2 separate regions of the Homo sapiens genome follow, and region 2 is linked to region 1. Evidence: promoter capture Hi-C in human tissues and cell types (Jung and others, 2019). All regions are on one chromosome and are shown on one strand. The core of a region is centred on a gene start or on the middle of the fragment in contact, and the rest is flanking DNA. Distances in the headings are between cores, read along the strand shown. Region 1 holds the start of IL17C (interleukin 17C). Region 2 holds the start of CHMP1A (charged multivesicular body protein 1A).

What was found. The method cuts DNA at HindIII sites, captures the fragments that hold promoters and counts their contacts. A contact is called where the count stands out against the background at its distance.
Region 2: the fragment with the promoter of CHMP1A here is called in contact with the fragment with the promoter of IL17C in region 1 in 1 of the 25 tissues and cell types used here (stomach).

Annotation. Positions count from the first base shown.
Region 1 is chr16:88,637,122-88,640,082 of GRCh38, forward strand. It overlaps IL17C (interleukin 17C), which reads left to right and starts at 1,451. Exons shown (of 3, transcript NM_013278.4): 1 at 1,451-1,526; 2 at 1,860-2,188; 3 at 2,693-2,961. The coding sequence starts at 1,521. The coding sequence ends at 2,951. LOC124903755 (a long non-coding RNA gene) reads left to right here. Exons shown (of 2, transcript XR_007065181.1): 2 at 1-313. The HindIII fragment of the contact is 16,303 bases long and covers 1-2,961 here.
Region 2 is chr16:89,656,134-89,659,094 of GRCh38, forward strand. CHMP1A (charged multivesicular body protein 1A) reads right to left here and starts at 1,575. Exons shown (of 7, transcript NM_002768.5): 1 at 1,449-1,575. The coding sequence starts at 1,455. It overlaps SPATA33 (spermatogenesis associated 33), which reads left to right and starts at 1,703. Exons shown (of 3, transcript NM_001271907.2): 1 at 1,703-1,815; 2 at 2,115-2,288. The coding sequence starts at 1,779. RefSeq lists silencers at 1,302-1,361, 1,582-1,971 and an enhancer at 1,687-1,856. The HindIII fragment of the contact is 33,607 bases long and covers 1-2,961 here.

The DNA of each region.
Region 1 (2,961 bases), core at 201-2,700:
CTCCAGGACAACCCTCCTCAGGATGACGTCAAACCCCCGGCATTCAAACCTTCCCAAGTTCTGGCTGCAGCTGTCCCTTTCCGGGGAAACAAAGGCACCTCCAGCGCCCCCACCCCCAGCCAGCCTCACCGATCAAGGAGGCCAAAGGCAGCTCCCGGCCCCGCTTACATAAAGCTTCCTGTGTGTGCTGGTCACACCTCACACCTCACGCCTCACGCCTCATGCCTCATTCACACCTCACACCTCACTCCTCACACCTCCAACTCAGACTTTTTAGCTTGAACTTTTTTCTCAATAAAACCACAGAAGCCCAGGCCGGGTGCAGTGACTCATGCCTGTGATCCCAGCACTTTGCGAGGCCGAGGTGGGCAGATCACGAGGTCAGGAGATCGAGACCATCCTGGCTAACATGGTGAAACCCCGTCTCTACTAAAAATACAAAAAAATTAGCCAGGTGTGGTGGCGGGCGCCTGTAGTCCCAGCTACCCGGCAGGCTGAGGCAGGAGAATGGCGTGAACCCAGGAAGCTGAGCTTGTAGTGAGCCGAGATCGCACCACTGTACTCCCCGCCTGGGCGACAGAGTCAGACTCCGCCTCAAAAAAACAACAAAAAAAAAAACAACACAGAAACCCAACAGAGACCTGAAGACGTGCCTGCCTCCCCCATCTCCGGGACCTCTCCCACCTGGGTGAAGGGGGCACGTGAGCCTCACCTGATCTTGACCATCTCAGCTAAAACACTGAACCACCCTTGGCACCCACCAGCAGCAGACGGAGAAGAACTGTATAGGGTGCAAAAGCGCCCCGCCACCATCAGGTCCAGATGAAAACCTACAAGTTGAATCAGCAAGGTGCTGACGGATACGCAAGCAGAAACCCTCTTATAGGAGGTTCAAGGCTGGGCGCAGTGGCTCACTCCTGTAATCCCAGCACTTTGGGAGGCCAAGGCGAGCAGATCACTTGAGGTCAGGAGCCTCAGACCAGCCTGGCCGATATGGCAAAACCCTGTCTGTACTAAAAATACAAAAATTAGCCAGGCATGGTGGGGGGTGCCTGTAATCCCAGCTACTCGGAAGCCTGAGGCAGGAGAATCGCTTGAACCTGGGATGTGGAGGTTGCAGTGAGCTGGGACAGCACCATTTCCCTCCAGCTCGGGTGACAGCAAGACCCTGTCTCAAAAAAAAAAAAAAAGTTTGAGAATGTCAGACAAGGCAGCACCCTGTGTAGGTGCTCAGGTTGGGCGGAGTCTCTCTCGGGGGAGGGGGGTAACAGGACAGCGCCTCCCGGGGCCTCCTTGCATGTCTGTGTCCTGATGCACAGCAGGCGGGGGCTGCGGGGACCAGAGAAGGAAGAAGCGCCCCAGCTGGGCACTTCCCGAGGAGGAAGTGGTGCCGGAATTTCCCCCAGGTGTGGCCTCAGGTATAAGAGCGGCTGCTGCCAGGTGCATGGCCAGGTGCACCTGTGGGATTGCCGCCAGGTGTGCAGGCCGCTCCAAGCCCAGCCTGCCCCGCTGCCGCCACCATGACGGTGAGCCTCTCCACATGCCGCTCGGATGGATGCTGCTTGGATGTGCAGCCTGGCATGGAAGGGCTGGGGTTCTCTGAGCCTGGGAGGAGGGTGTTGGGATGGGGTCTGGGAAACCCCTCAGTCTGGGGGTAGGGGAGGCAGCTGCAGATCCTCGGAGCGCTGGCATGCTGGGTGTCTTGGGCTGAAGGGCTAGCCTCTCTGGGCTTCAGTTTCCCCATCTATAGAGGGAGGGCTGTACTCCATCTTTCCGCTGGGAACAAGGAAAGCTGAGGTGGAAGTGAGGTGCCCCCTGCCCTGGGCACCTCCTAACCACCCACCTGCCTGTTTCACCAGCTCCTCCCCGGCCTCCTGTTTCTGACCTGGCTGCACACATGCCTGGCCCACCATGACCCCTCCCTCAGGGGGCACCCCCACAGTCACGGTACCCCACACTGCTACTCGGCTGAGGAACTGCCCCTCGGCCAGGCCCCCCCACACCTGCTGGCTCGAGGTGCCAAGTGGGGGCAGGCTTTGCCTGTAGCCCTGGTGTCCAGCCTGGAGGCAGCAAGCCACAGGGGGAGGCACGAGAGGCCCTCAGCTACGACCCAGTGCCCGGTGCTGCGGCCGGAGGAGGTGTTGGAGGCAGACACCCACCAGCGCTCCATCTCACCCTGGAGATACCGGTGAGGACCTGGGGATTCCGCTGTGGCGTGGGGCTGCCCCTCCCCTGGCGGGGCCCTGACTGCCCGGAGAGCTCTCTGGGCCTTGGTGGTTCTCACCTGTCAAGTGGGCGTGGCCACCTGAGCTCCCTCCCTCCGGCCCTCCTGACCTGGACGGCTGAGCTGCTGCTTGCGGCTGGCCGTGCCCTGCCTCCCACTGTCCTAGGTGGCCAGGGTCCCCTGGGGAAATTCTGGGCCCGTCACCTGAGCTCCTGCAGAAGTGGGGCTGGGTGATGAAGTGGAAGGGAGGCTCCTAGAGGCCTCCGGACCCTGCTCTGTGCTCTTGGAGGGCCCTGGGGAGACGTGGATTACCACCACATGTGAGCCCGACTGCACCCCAAGCCCGTGTGGCTCAGCCCTCGCTGCCTCAGGTCCTATCCTGAGTACACGGAGAGGGGCCCTGAGGGGAGAGGGGCCTCCAGGAGGACAGGGTAGGGCCAGAGACTCACTGTGCACCCCGTCCCGCAGTGTGGACACGGATGAGGACCGCTATCCACAGAAGCTGGCCTTCGCCGAGTGCCTGTGCAGAGGCTGTATCGATGCACGGACGGGCCGCGAGACAGCTGCGCTCAACTCCGTGCGGCTGCTCCAGAGCCTGCTGGTGCTGCGCCGCCGGCCCTGCTCCCGCGACGGCTCGGGGCTCCCCACACCTGGGGCCTTTGCCTTCCACACCGAGTTCATCCACGTCCCCGTCGGCTGCACCTGCGTGCTGCCCCGTTCAGTGTGACCGCCGAGGC
Region 2 (2,961 bases), core at 325-2,824, 1.0 Mb after region 1:
CTAACTAAAAGAATTTTTTTTGAGACGGAGTCTCGCTCTGTCGCCCAGGCTGGAGTGAAGTGGCGCGATCTCGGCTCACTGCAAGCTCCGCCTCCCGGGTTCACGCCATTCTCCTGCCTCAGCCTCCCGAGTAGCTGGGACTACAGGCACCCGCCACCACGCCTGGCTAATATTTTTGTATTTCTAGTAGAGATGGGGTTTCACTGTGTTAGCCAGGATGGTCTCGATCTCCTGACCTTGCGATCCGCCGGCCTCGGCCTCCCAAAGTGCTGGGATTACAGGCGTGAGCCACCGCGCCCAGCCCTTCAAAAAGTATTTTTAAAAGCCTGCCCATCACACCAGCCCAACGATGTTTCAGCAAACATAGGACTTCATTTTGCCAGATTCTTCCTGTTCTTTGGTATCCCTGAGCACACAGCCGGCTAGCCCCAGATGTAGAAGGTAAGAATTAGGGCGACCCATTGAGCACAGAAACGCTTGTGCTGGCTCCTGCTCAAACCTCTGCTTCCCCACATGGAGAATGGACGCAAAGAGCTGCTGTGACCAGGGCCTGGCACTCAGGGAGCGCTTTCTGTCTGAGTCCTTCTGATTTGCAGTGATGCTGTTTGGGGCAGGGGGTGCAACTGTCACTTTTTCTGGTGCCCTCTGACCCGACATTCCAAGTCCCGAAAGGCCGAACAGGCATCGCACAGTCCCCCCTACCGAGCTGGCGGGAAAGGGCGCCTGACGCTGAGGAGTGCCAGGGGCGGGGGAAAGGGTCCTGGGTCGGTGGTCGGGGGTCCAGGCCCTGGGCAAGGGGTCCTGGGTCGGGAGTCTAGGTCCCGGGTCCATGGTTGGGGGTCAGAGGTCGAGGCCCCGGGGAAGGCATACCGGGTTGAGATTTGGGGATGGAGGCCCCGGGGAAGGGGTCCCGAATCGGGGGTCGGGGATCGAGGCCTGGGGGGAGGGGTCCCGGGTCGAGGGTCGAGGCCCGGGGTAAAGGATCTCGGGTTGGGGGTCGGGGGCCTGGGAAGGGTCCCGGTCGGTGGTCGGGGGTCGAGGCCCGGGAGAAGGGGTCCCGGGTCGGTGGTAGAGGCCCTGGGGAAGGGGTTCCGGGTCGGGGATCGAGGGTCGAGGCCCGGGAAAAGGGGTCCCGGGTTGGTGGTCTAGGCCCTGGGGAAGGGGTTCCGGGTCGGGTATCGGGGGACGAGGCTCGGGAAAAGGGGTCCCAGGTCGGTGGTCGAGGCCCTGGGGATGGGGTCCGGGTCGGGGATCGGGGGACGACGACCGGGAAAAGGGGTCCCAGGTCGGTGGTCGAGGCCCTGGGGATGGGGTCCCGGGGGATCGACGGTCGAGGCCCGAGCTCTCCTGAGTCCTGCCCGCGGCCCCAGGTGGGCGGAGCCCACGCCAGTGGGAGAAGCGGCCCCGCCCCGCGCGCGAGTCCCCGGAGGACGGCCGCGACCTCTTACCGTCCATGGCCACAATGACAGGAGCAGCACTCGGAGAGGGAGAAGGGACGCCAACTCCGGGCGGTGTCAGGTCCCGGCGGCGATCGAACCGACCAAGCTGCACCCGGCGGGGACTTCCGGGGTCGCCGCCCCACTTCCGGTCGCACGGGATGCTCTCGCGAGAGGATGGTGGCCGGTCCCGCCAGAGGGGCGGGGCGCGGCTGCGCGGCGCGCGGTCGCCATGGTGACGCACGCCGCTGGCGCGAGGACCTTTTGTGAGTCGCTCCCGGCTCCGCGGCCGCGGAGGTGTGGGGACCCGGGCTTGCGTCGGAGGGGGCGGTGGGCTCACCCATGGGCCTTTCCAAAAGCAAAGAGAAACCCAGGAAAGGTAAAGGAGGCGCAGGCGCTGGGCTCCCCGCGTCTCCGCCCCTGGGCGCGGGCCCAGGGCGGGGCTGGGCTGGGCGGGGCGGTGTGAGCGCAGGCGCCAGGCTCGGCCCGGTGCGAACCGTTCCTGCCGCCGAGTCCGCCACGGACGGCGCGTTTCCCGCCTGAGGCGGTTACGGAAACGCGGAGACTCGAGACTTGAAGCCAGCTTATTCTGGACCCACGCAGGCGACTGAAGACGATGGGACCCACTGCCCTGCATTCGGTAAGTCCCGGGTCTAACGGATGATCCATATATTTCAGGTGAGGAGCAAAAGAAGGGATCCACCTATTCAGTTCCAAAATCTAAGGAGAAGTTGATGGAGAAGCATTCCCAGGAAGCCAGGCAGGCAGACAGGGAGTCGGAGAAGCCTGTGGACAGCCTCCACCCGGGGGCCGGGACAGCCAAGCACCCGCCGCCGGCAGCTTCGCTGGAAGGTAGGAGACGGCGGGAGGGAGCGAAGCGAGGTCAGTGGCTTGGAGGATCTGGGGCTGGGGTGAGGAGCCTACTGTAAGACCCTACCGGATGGACACTAGTAGCAGGCACGCGCCGTAAAGATGAAACTGGTTTGTTTTGGGAACTTTATGTAGGAGGTAAATATCCAGAAATCTTAGTTGAAAACATAAGTTTAATGAAAATGTAGGTCAGTTCCCGAGTGATAAGTGCGTACCAGGTGGTCGAGGGGCTGGGGCAGTGTGCGTGTGTCTCACCTGAGGTTCTCCTCGAGGGCTGGGTATCTTGGTGCCACTGAGAATCCCTGAGCCTCCGCACACTGGAACAGAGCATTGGGAGGCCGTCCCAGGCTGGACTGTAGCTCTCCGAGGGCTGTGGGGATAAGTACATTGCGGAGGGTGACCGAGGAGTAGAACCTGGGTGCGACAAAGGTGTCTTTTATAACAGCCTAGTGTGGCCAGACCTTTGGGTGTGTGTGGGGAAGATGAGGCCCCAAAAGTAGGAAGAAGCTAGAATACAAAGTTTTCCATCAGTTTTACCACGTGGAGCTGGAAGCGTTAAATATTTTAAACAACGGAGGTGCTGCCTGGGGCGGTAGTTCACACCTGTCCTCCCAGTTATTTGGCCGAGGCAGGAGGATCTTTTGAGCCCAGGAGT